Regions from separate parts of the Homo sapiens genome. Here region 2 is linked to region 1. Evidence: promoter capture Hi-C in human tissues and cell types (Jung and others, 2019). All regions are on one chromosome and are shown on one strand. The core of a region is centred on a gene start or on the middle of the fragment in contact, and the rest is flanking DNA. Distances in the headings are between cores, read along the strand shown.

Region 1 (6,233 bases), core at 1,788-4,287:
TAACTGAGACAGAGAAACTGACCAACCGCCGGTCCCACTGCACATCAATATTAATAATAGAAAAATGTTTTGTAAGAGCCTTCTAAGGCCTGGGCATTTTCGAAGTTCTCTACTTCACATTTAATTCTCACAATGACCCTATAGTCATCCTCTTTATTCAGGTGAGGCAAGTTGAGGCACAGAGAATTATGTAATTTACCTAACGCTCAGGGTCATGTAGCTAGTAAGCAGAGACCACTATGAAAAACCCAGCTAGTCTGGCCCCCGAGACCCACGCACTCAACCAGGACACCCTTTGGCTTCTCAAATGAGTTTATATCACTAAACATGTTCATACATGTAAACTTTCAGAGCTTACTGCTGCTGTAGCACAATTTTGTCCTTAATCACGAGGTCACTCAAATACAGCTTATAGAAAGTTGGTCGGCCATGGTTGACATCGATGATGATTTCAGAGTAAAAGCAGTTATCTGCTCACCTATAAATAAACCCCGTCACAGTGGGTCTGTTGCTGTAATCAGAGAATGGTTCTGTTGCATTTATTTTTTGAAATATGTTTAATGGAATACATAATACCACGATCTACTATCAAAGCAAATATTCGCAGTGAGATAGAAACAGTTTTATGAGTTTACTGTTTGAGTTGCTTTTGAAAGAGAAGGAGGAGAAGAAGATGATGAAAGAGAAGGGAAAACAGTGAAAGAGAGAGAGAGAAATCAAAATAAAGTCAAGGCCCTTATTCACTGTTGGTGACAAAATAAAAGACATTCTCTTAAAGAGAGGCCCTCTTGTTAGCATGCTGCGACCTCAGTGCTGGCACAGCCATAGTAGTAATTACATCCAGAAAGAATAACCTCCATTCAAACATTACATTTTCTAAGTTTTACATTCCACTTGTTTTTTTTCTCTTGTCTGTCAAGAGACTATCAATGTTTGCATCTCAGACTCCAGATTCCCTGTTTATCAATGACGGGAGGATTAAGGATGCCTGCTTCTGCTGTGATATCATGTTTTCCCGAAGCTACCTTTCCTTATGACACAAAAGCCTGCACAACTTTAAAAAAAGTGAGGCTGGAATTCTCTGAAGCTCCAGGATCAGGGTCTTCAGGGTCTACTTAGGAGACACCAGGACTCCACAAATCCACTGAGATGGAAGTTGGGAGTGTGGCAAAAACTGACTTCCCTCTCCACTGCACTTTAGCTGAAGGAGGGATTGATAAGCGTTTTGCAAGTCTACTATCAAGTACATCACCAGATCCTTTTAGAGACAAACCAGCACCCCCAGACCCTCCACATTTAAACTGGCAAGGAAGCATTTGAAATGAATGCAGCCTCATAGAAAACAAATCTACATCCTCTCTTCTTCAGAAAGGTGGCAGTGTTGCCTTACAGTTTTGACCGAATACAACGCAGTGGTGAGGTCTCTAGCTGGTTAACAGATCAACCGCCTCACCTCACCATGGAAAGGAAAGGAAGGACTTAATCCACTGCCGACCCCAGTGGCTGGCGGACTCATCCCAGAGCTTCAGGGGCAGTGAGACTTGTGACCGCCTAAGCTCTTGAGTTTTCAACTTGCATCAACAATGAAGATCCTAAGAAAATCTCCAGTTGACTCCACAGGCATCTAAAAACCAAGGGCATCTAAGAAAGTCACAGATGAACCTTACCTCCCAGCATCTACATTTTTCCTTTTTGAACCATCCATCCCAAGTGAAACAACTGAGTTGGCCCCATGTAGAAGGGCTAAGGAAACTTTAGCTTAGCAACCTATGCCAGCATCTTTCTGACACCTGTTATGTCTAATGTTCACATCAGAGTTCTCCTAAAAGTCATCAATCTAAGTAGAAGTCCTACATTGTTGAGTGTGTTGTTAACCAGTTTTCTAAAACCAACATTATACACAGAGCTACTGAAAAATAACTTCAGAAGTCAAGTGTTGCTTTGTCTAAACGTGGAGACCCACACAGACACCTTCCATGGGCGCGTGTACAAGCCCTTCTGGAGAAGCGGTTAGAGCTCCCGTCTCTCCCTTCCACTCACCTCCACTCAGCGTCCTTTGAGAAGTTTCTCCATGTGCCACTAACACAGAAATTTTGGGGGAAATTCTCTATTTATAAATATCAGATGGTTTGGGAAAAAATATTTGTGGCACTGGGCTTTCTTTTTTTTTCTACAGTGATGTCATTTTAAATACTTGGTGTGCTCCAAATTTGCTATTTTTACTTCCCCCAAGTGACTTTTTTTGGGAAATACATTTGTTTGGATTAGCTACATTTTAAGTGACCCCTGTACCTAACACACAACATCAGGTTCATCTTCTCAGCGATTATAACCGATACTACGCAGCTTCCAAACTTGAAATCCCTTATTTGTTCATTTCCAAAGTTGCTCCCTCTGAATGTACCCCTCCAAAATTTCTATTCATAGATGCAGAGAAAATAAAATAAAAGGATTGGCCTTTTCACAGATGAACAACCACACTCGACCACCCAAAGCACTTACAACGGAAGACACGAAAGGCCCCCAAAGTCAAACAAAACTCTTCGCTTCCACAATGTGCTTTTGGGGAACAAAGTTGAGGTAGACCTGGCAGGCTTTGAAACATTTATTGGAAAGCAGTTCTAGAGTTGAGAATTGCAGAAGAGGAAAGTTTAAGAAGGAATGCTAAATGCCTTAGCCCTACCTGATCTGAACTTGCTCCTAATCAGCAAGGAATGCTCAGACCCCAGGAGTGTCATGTTGAGTCTCAGCAAGCCGCTGGTCCCTTGGCCAGGCGCCCCCTGTTCTCCACCAGCAACAGGCTCCCGGGAGCCCAGCTGACCGCAGCTAACAACCCAGAATTCATCCAACTCTCCGTGAGCTCCCCTGGGTAGGAGTACAGTGGCAGCCAGTGTCCCCAGAAAACTGGCGCCTCCCCCCTCGCCGTGCGGGGCTAATTAACTCTTAGCCGGCGGGACCCTCCTCCTCCTCGGAGGTTGGCCAGGAGCAGCGCGGCATCCCAGGCGTTCCTGTCTGATGTCATAGGCTGCCGGCGATTGCGGAGAATCGCCACCACGCCTTTATGAAGGTCCCAACTTTGCCATCTGATACCCTTTACTACTGACAGGCGCTCAGCCAATCAGGAGCGGCGAGCGGGGTCTGGGGACCCGGAGCCGCCGAAGCCGTCTCGGGAACCGGCTCTTAACTCTTTGCGGCGGGCCCCGCAGCCGCCGAGGCACAGAGGGCGGGAGCAGGGCCAGGGGTCGGGAATCTGGGAGAGGGGCGCGAGCTAAAGAGCGGATGCCCGGAGGAAAGAAGGAAGGGCTGCGACGCCGCGGGGCTTGCAGGTGGTTCGCGGGGCTGCGGCAGCCGCTGGGAGCTCCGAGGTCCTGGGGATGGGCGTGCGCAGCCGGGGCTTCCCCGGCCGGGCTTCTGCCGGCGAAAGGGAAGCGGCCGGGATCTCCCGCCAGCCGGCTGCAAAGGCTGCGCGAAAGGGCGTGCGCGCCCGCGGGACAGTTCACGCGGGGCAATTTGGAAATAAGCTGGACCCCTGAGAAGAAAAGCTTCCGACGGACCGAAGCCCACGCATTCCCCTCGGTTTGAGGGGCTCAGGGCACTGGCAGAGACGATTCTGTATCTCGCAGCTCCAATACTGGACTTAGATGCATTTCCACGGGGAAATGGAAAGGCTTTCATTTTCTAGGATATGCTTTTTGGGGGGACAAATGTGACACGGCGCATCTGGAGATCCAGCTGCGACACAACGCTCCCACCTCACAACCCCGAGGGAATGGGAAAAGATACCTGAGTTGGAGTGAAAAACCTACTGGGCTCTAAATAGGGAGGGGCTCTGGAGCAGGGGGCAAGTCAGAGCTCGGGCTGGGCTTAGCTTGGGAAGGCTCAAAAACTTTGCCTGCGAATGAGTCTCTCCTTAGGGGAAAATCCATTCCGTAACCGACCCAGAGTTATTTGTGCATCTGGCCGAGGTGTTATAGGCACATGGATCAATGAAATAAAACAAAGACCCATCTCTCAAGAAGCCCGTTAAATAGTTGGTGGCTCAGAACATAAAAACCACTCTGTATACGTATATAATTAGGGCTTATTTGCAACTTCATATGCACGTGGACCCCGGGTGTCGTCTATTACACACAAGCCTGCCTGCATACTACGAGTCCTTAAAAGATCAGTCGGTGACAGATGGAGACCCGAGGTGACAATAGCTCATGGGGACAACCTCTAATGTCCTGGTCCCGGCCTCTGCCCCATCCCCTGTTGCTGAAAACACATTAGAGGGGTTAGCCCTAGAGCTTACTCTCTGGATCTGAGCGGGGCGATTTTGTAAATAAGGTCTTCAGGGATAGACACCTTCTTGCTGATGTGTCAGAGACGAGGAAGAACAATCCATCCATGTTCCCTTTGGGGATCTAGTCCTGGCCTGGGCGCCTGTCTATAGGCTGATTTCGTGTGCAGGAGCATCTCAGCGATTACGTAACATCATTTTCCCATTCCTGCTATAACAAATTACCACGAATGTAGTGGCTTAAAACAGCACACATTAATTATCTTGCTGTTATGGAGGGCAGAAGTCCAAAGTGGGTCTCAGGGGGTCAAAATCAAGGTGTCAGCGGGGCTGCGTTAGTTTCTGGAGGCTCTAGGGGAAAATCGATTTCCTCACCTTTTCCAGCTTCTAGAGGCCGCCCGAGTACTTGGCTCATGGCCGCTTCCTCCATTTTTGAAGCCAGCAATCGTGGGTCAAGTTCCTATTGCATCTTACCGCTTTAATGCTCCCTTCCCCACCTTCTGCTTCCCTCTTCTACATTAACCTTACGGCAAAAATAAACTCTATCATAAAGTCAGTTTATTATCCTCCCTAATCTCATCCACTGCCTGGATTCCCTTTGCTGTATAATGTAACCTATTCACAGATTCCTGGGATTAGGACATGAACATGGGAGGAGAGGGCATGATTCCGCCTGAGATCTTTCTTTCTCTTCTACCTCTCCTGGTCTTCAGTCAACCCCCAGCCCCCTGGTCTTCAATGAGAAGAAGGAAAGTGGAGGGAGGTTTGGGAACGGGTGCACACAGGAGTCTGGAAGGGCTCTGACCGGCTTTGAGATGTGTGTGGCAGGGAGGTACTCTACAGGGAAGAGATTGGTGGGATAAGGAATATTGCAAAATTATCTGAGCAGAGAAAACTATTTTGAGCAACATTAAAAAAAGAAAAAAGAAAAAGCCAAACAGATTTTTATCCCGAAGGCTTTGGGGCTGAGAAGAGATACATGGCAACTTGGCAGAGAATTATTTTTTCAGTGCAAGTTGGGATGAAATTAGCTGAAGCCAGCATTGATTGTAGGGTCTGCATGACCTAGATGAGCTGGCCAGGAGTAAGTTGTTTTCTCTCTGCAGGCCTAGGGGGAGTGTGTGTGTGTGTGTGTGTGTGTGCGCGCGTGTGTGTATGTGTGGAGTGTGGTGTGTGTGTGTGTATGTGTGTTTGCAGGGAAGCAGTTTCTTTTTTTCAGTGAGTTTGGGAAATGCCAATAACCATAGCCCCCCTCAATTTTCCCATCACAGTGTGGAGCTACTGACATATATCCTGAAATTTATACCTCCTATGGCTTGGAATATCTATGGTTATAAATATGCTCATAAAGAAGTTCATCATTTCTCCTCTCTAGCCAAGCACTTTTGGTAAAACAAAAAAAATTTTTGAGAGGGGTGGAATTTGGAGAAGATGTTCTCAAGGAGAACAGAACTCCTAAGCTGCTAGGCTCGAAAAGCAGCAGGCTAATGCAGCAGCGGCATGCTGCCAGGCTCTGTCCTGCAATGTCACCCACCACCTTGGAGTATGTTTTCCTTGCCAGGCTACTCCATGACCTTCTTTTCCTGGGGCTTGGAGTAAGCCCGTGATGTGACACAAAGGCAAGACATGAGCCTCCAGTGTGAGAAAGATCTTCTTTCCATCAGGATAACCCTGTACTTTGGAGTGAATTATTGGAGTTCTCTGGGATACTCAACGTCTTATCTGTAAAATGGAGTTAGAAATATTTACTTCCAGGAAGAGTTGGGATATTTAAATGAAAGAATACATGTGGGGTGCCCAGAACAATTTTGGTGTGTTTTTTATTATTATTTTTTATTATTTTGAGACAGAGTCTCGCTCTGTTGCCCAGGCTGGAGTACAGTGGTGCGATCTGGGCTTACTGCAACCTTGCCTCCTGGGTTCAAGAGATTCTCCCTGCCTCAGCCTCCCG
Region 2 (6,233 bases), core at 1,459-3,958, 50 kb after region 1:
TGATTCATTGACATTGAATTTACCGCCAACAGCACTATAAGTAATGCCAGAATGAAGCTTACTGAACACATGCATTTTCTCTGTAAGGCACACATAGCGTTCTTGTACTTAGGAACACTATGCAGGGTTTCAGCACCATGCTTGTGAACCCCTTCCTTACACCTTATACAAAAATTAACTCAAAATGGATTAAAGACTTAAATGTAAAACCCCAAACCATAAAAACTCTAGAAGAAAACCTAGACAAACCTTGCGGACATAGTCATGGGCAAAGGCTTCATGATGAAAATGCCAAGTCAAAATTGATAAATGGGATCTAATTAAACTAAAGAGTTTCTGCACAGCAAAAGAAACTATCATCAGAGCGAACAGGCAACCTACAGAATGGGAGAAAATTTTTGAAATCCATCCATCTAACAAAGGTCTAATATCCAGAATCTACAAGGAACTTAAACAAATCTACAAGAAAAAAACAAACAACCCCATCAAAAAGTGGGCAAAGGATATGAATGGACACTTCTCAAAGGAAGACTTTTACACAGCCAACAAACACATGAAAAAAAGCTCAACATCACTGATCATTAAAGAAATGCAAATCAAAACCACAATAAGATACCATCTCATGTCAGTCAGAATGGTGATTATTAAAGCGTCGAGAAACAATAAATGCTGCCGAGGCTGTGGAGAAATAGGAATGCTTTTACACTGTCGGTGGGAATGTAATTTAGTTCAACCATTATGGAAGACAGTATGGTGATTCCTCAAGGATCTAGAACCAGAAATATCATTTGACTCTGCAATACCATTACTGGGTATATACCCAAAAGAATATAAATTATTCTACTATAAAGACACATGCACACGTATGTTTATTGCAGCACTATTCACAATAGCAAAGTCATGAAACCAACCCAAATGCCCGTCAATGATAGACTGGATATAGAAAATGTGGTACATAACACAATGGAACACTACACAGCCATAAAAAGGAAGGAGATCATGTCCTTTGCAGGGACATGGATGAAGCTGGAAGCCAACATCCTCAGCAAACTAACACAGGAACAGGAAACTAAACACCACATGTTCTCACTCATAAGTGGGAGTAGAACAATGAGAATACGTGGACACAGAGAGGGGAACAACACACACCAGGCCTGTTGGGAGGGTGGGGAGTGAGGGGAGGAAACTTAGAGGACAGGTCAATAGGGGCAGCAAACTACCATGGCACACATATACCTGTGTAACAAACCCGCACGTTCTGTACATGCATCCCAGAACTTAAAGTAAAATAGTAATAAATAAATAAATAAATACAAAGTGTAACCAAAGTCTCATGTTCCATTATTCCACAGGAAATTTAACAATCATTGAAATATTAAATATCCAGTCTGGGTTCACATTTCCCTGATTATCTCATAATTTGTTTTTGACACATTTTGTTCATTTGAATCATCTTTTAGAGGTTTTATCAACTTTGTCAACCAGCCTCAACTTTTCCATTTATATCCACGACATTTTAGCAGCGTTTATAGATGGCGCACCAAGGCCTTGATTCAAGGAGATTTCCAAGAGCTCACGTCAGGGGTGCTTTTCCATTGGCTGCTCCGGTGGGGGCTACTTTGCATATCTTCAACTATGGGTGGGTTTCATCTGACTTCTTGCCTCTGCACTATATTCAGCAGAAATTCCTCCAAGTTGTTTTCATGTGGATAATGCTTTTCCCTATTTTGCAGCATTAATGCAGATATTTTCACTAGTTTTTCTGTGTGGGGGGAATAGCAGTTCTATGGACATTTGGAAGAGGAGTAGGAATAAAAACATGTGCTTAATCAGTCATCCTTAACTGAAACGATGTAGTCTTAACAGATTTACAGCACTCTTCATTTTACAACCACTTAAGTAAGTTTATAAAGTTAAAACAGACCAAAGAAGCATCCACCATTTAAAGGACTATTCAGCCCCCTAATTTTTAGATGCAATGAAAAATTCATTAATTAAGAAAATTATTTTCTTCTAAAATGATTTGTTGGACATCTGTCATATGCCAGGCTCTATGTTAAATGCCAGTTATAAAAAAGAATAGGCACAGTCCCTGTCCTCATGCTTCTTACAGCCTACACAGCAAGGGGGTTATACACATAGGAACAGCAGGATCCACAATGGCCATCACTGGGAGCAGAGGATTCTGGGAGCAGAAGTGATTCATTCCACCTGGGGTTCCTGTGCTGGGAAAGCTTCATGAAGGAGGAGATATGGTGGCGGGAGGGTAGATGAATGGACACTAAGAAGACGGTAAAGAATGTGCTTGGCAACTAATGGGTAACCTGGTGTTTCTGGATCATAAGGACTGAAAAGAAAGCCAATGTGAGATTATGAGAGTCTTTAATGTGAAGACTTGGGGCTTTATCTTCTCAGGCAGTAGAAATCCATAGACACTCCTAAAAATAGTATTGTGACATGATTAAAAGTTCAGTGAAATAAGAAACAGCAATCAAATGAATCATTCTTTAAGGATCAAGAAAAGACTATAGAAAAGACTATAATCAAACTTACTCCAAATCTAACCAAAATTTAAAAGTGTTCCAGATATGAGATAAACAGTATATAAACTTGGAAAATCCCTTTAAAAATTTTTAAGATAAAAAAAGGAAAGCAAAAATAATTTTCATTGCAGTTCAATCTTAAGCCCTAACTTATTTCGTACTTTTATAAAGAGAAGGACATATGGACCCCAGGTTCATAGTTTGATTACCAGCAGTACACCTGACCACACAAGCAGCCAGGACACAGACTTCTCAGTGTTGCTACCCTTTTTCTTCTGACTCAAAATTTGACTTTTCCTCCAGGCCAGTGAAAGCAAGCGCTTCTGCCACACACTTTCCACTATCTGTTTTTCTCTCCTGATACCTGAAATACAGGAAAGGAGCATGATTTCCTGATCTACCTTTGCACTCGTGATGGTATCTTACCTAATTCTTCTGAATTTTAATTTTCACCCCAGATGAGTGTTTATCTCTTTAACTTTATACATGCTACCCCACTCCCCCAAGTGCTAGAATGCTCCAGACTTTATTATTATTAGAACTTTTAAAGAATTTTGGACATACTGGTAATTATTTTCAGACACCAGGCCTTTTGCCAAAAATCTAGAATCAGTTTTGGACCAGTTTAGAATCTCCGGGTCTTTGTGAGTGATAGAGAACATCTCGGGGAACACTTTTCAGAGTCCCAGAATGCTCTTTTCCAGCGAAGACACCTCACAGCCACAGCTCTGTATGTCTGTATTAGCACTTTCCTCAGACACACCCTGGTCTCCATCAGCCTCTCTAATAGATCAGAGCACACGGCCTAAGGCCCTCTTGGTCTGCACTTATTAGCAAGTTACTTTAGGGCTTTGCAGACAGCAGAGGAATCTTTTGTTCATCTCTATCTATAGTTCTCCAACTGCTGACATTTTCTAAGGCCTTAGAATCACATATACCAGAATTGGAGGGAGCTCAGAGGCTACCTAAACCATAAATGCTCACGTTTTATTTTTGCATCAAAATCTTTCGTTCAAACATAGCAAAATGTTAAGCTCAAATTTTCATCTTACAAGGGAGATCATTGCTTGATATAAAACGAATAAAAGTATAACTCCTGAGGGTGCACAGGGCACCTCTGCTAAAAATCCTTGGGCTCTGCAGAGCATAGTTTGAAAACCAATGGTTAATTGAACTTTTTATGAAAGCGTAAGTCATGAAAATAATGTTCAGAGACATTAAGCCATTTGTCCGCAGGGACACCATTGGAAGAAAAGTCAGTATCCTAATTCCAGTCCTTTGATGGATCCCAAACCCCCAGGACTTTCCATGGGGTCATATATACTGCCCACTTATTTGCCAGTCTTGTCTCCAAAAGCTTCTCCTAAGGTAGAATTGAAGACATTCATTTTGATGACCCATTTACTTGGTGATTCACCTCTATTTTTTTTTCTATATACAATTCACAATTTTGCTCGTAAGGTACAAACTTGTGTTTTGGGCATCTTGTACCTAAAGCGATAAAGTCTGGACGAAGAGCACTGTTCCTCATTAAGATGTTAGACTTCTAGCTATATTGCTTTTGGTGAATTTTCTCCTCAAACCAGTTGACTGTTTTCATAAATGTTTCGCTCTGCCTGGCAAAACAACGGGTTGATCAGTTGGCTGTTTTTATGAATGTCTTGCCCTTTCTGGCAAGATTGATTTTTCATTTTGTTTTGTTCAAACATATCAAAATGTTACACTCAAATTAAAATCTTATAAGGGAGATCATTGCTCAATATAAAACAGATGAAAGTAGAACTCGAGAGGTTGGGTCTGGATAGTGTGATTGTATCGTTTGTCTTCCAAACGTGGACATTTTTGAAAGTAAACGGGGGTTCGATTAATTAGTAACCTGGGACAACAGGTGCAATCCTGGACTGTCCTGGACAAGCAGGACAGATCACCTGTTGTCCTGTTATAGTTTCCAGGTCACCTAAAGCTGGGATGAAGTTGACAACATTGCAGTTAATAAACCACAGGAGAAATTAGAGAAGAAATAACACTAAGAGTAATCAAAGACAGAAAATATGAGAAACTGGTGTGACTGACAGCTTTACAACCAGAATTGAAGCTTTGTGTGTGGTTGATTGGACCTTGAGCCCAGAGGAGTGGGTAGCCCAGGTGGGCAGAGAGTAGAAAGGAAGAGAAGAGAAGCTCCCAAAGGAGAACCAGTTAGAGGGCAGAAGTAGCCATAACAAGGGAATTTGGCTCCTGCATTCTCTTCAATTGTCTGTGCAGAATAGCATACGTGAGACATTCTAGCTGGAAAATCCCCAAATTCCAGAAACAATGGCCTTATGCAAATCGTAGGAGACATATCTGTATATGGCCTGACAAGGATGAACTCTGGAATGTTTTGATGGAAGAGAAGGAAGTTGGCATTGCCTCAGCAAATGACATCGGGGTTAGAAAGGACAGCTGCTCACATTCCTGGCTGGTGTTGCATCCATCAGAGCTGCTGAGTGCTGCCTATGTCTGCCTGTGGCCACATCAGCATCCCCAAACCAGGCTTGTAGGGGGCTCATCATTAAGAGGCTATTCTGTCCCTTGATTCAAATTTTATTTTGCAGAAAGGCAGCCATTTTGTATGGCTTGATATGTCACATTTACACAGTCCTCTCTGTTTCTCAAGAAAGAAAACCATATAACCTTTAAAAAGTAGAAATCTAGAGTCAAAAAGGCAAAGTTGGGTCGTGCTCTGGTTGAATGGCTCACGCCTGTAATCCCAGCACTTTGGGAAGCCGAGGTAGGCAGATCACCTGAGGTCAGGAGTTCGAGACCAGCCTGACCAACATGGAGAAACCCTGTCTCTGCTAAAAATACAAAATTAGCCGGGCGTGGTGGTGCATGCCTGTAATCCCAGCTACTCAGGAGGCTGAGGCAGGAGAATCACTTGAACCCAGGAGGCGGAGGTTGCAGTGAGCTGAGATTGTGCCATTGCACTCCAGCCTGGGCAACGAGGGCCAAACTCTGTCTCAAAAAAAAAAAAAAATTCACCCTGATATCTCTATATTTATGTGCTATTCACAACCATGGCTAGTGTCCATTGAATATTTTCTATGTGCTTTACAGGTTTATCTCAGGTGACACTTGTGACTGTAGGGTGGCCAACCATCCCGGTTTGCCTCGAACTGTTCTGCTTTTAGCACTGAAAGTCCCATTTCCAGGGAAAACCCTCAGTTCCCGTCAAACCACAACATTAGGCCACTCTACTTACAATATTCCAAAGAGGCTGGTTTATTTTCTTACCCATTTCACAGATCGGACTTTACAGATGACCTAACTGAACTTCAGACAAATTAAGTCAATTTTGTAATCCATGAGACTCCTAGAACATGAGGCAGCAGGATTTGAACCCAACTCTGCCTGACTTCAAAGCCAGTGCTCTCAACTATTACACTCTCACCTCTTTGTTCTCACTGATATAAAACCAGAGATATTAACACTAATGATGAACCGCATCCCACTAACAAGGCAACTTCCTGATCGCTAGTGAGAACTTAAATTATGTTTCCATATGTTATATAGCACGTGGAACATTAGAGTTGAAAGCATTCCTAGAAGGCATCTAGTTGGCGCTATTTAATTCATATTTGAGCCTCAGAAGGGTAGAAGGCATGACTCAATGTCACACAGCAAATGAATGACAAAACTGAGACTGTATTG

Evidence for each region. Contacts are between HindIII fragments. The study calls those that stand out against the background at their distance.
Region 2: a contact is called between a fragment that was not itself captured here and the fragment with the promoter of MYOCD in region 1, in 1 of the 25 tissues and cell types used here (heart right ventricle).

What each region holds. Positions count from the first base shown.
Region 1 is chr17:12,662,694-12,668,926 of GRCh38, reverse strand. It overlaps MYOCD (myocardin), which reads right to left and starts at 3,037. Exons shown (of 14, transcript NM_001146312.3): 1 at 2,684-3,037. The coding sequence starts at 2,738. The HindIII fragment of the contact is 11,548 bases long and covers 1-6,233 here.
Region 2 is chr17:12,612,481-12,618,713 of GRCh38, reverse strand. All of the region lies in intron 3 of LINC00670 (long intergenic non-protein coding RNA 670), which reads right to left. Among named protein-coding and RNA genes, the nearest start is that of MYOCD, 50 kb to the left of the region's middle. The HindIII fragment of the contact is 3,123 bases long and covers 1,147-4,269 here.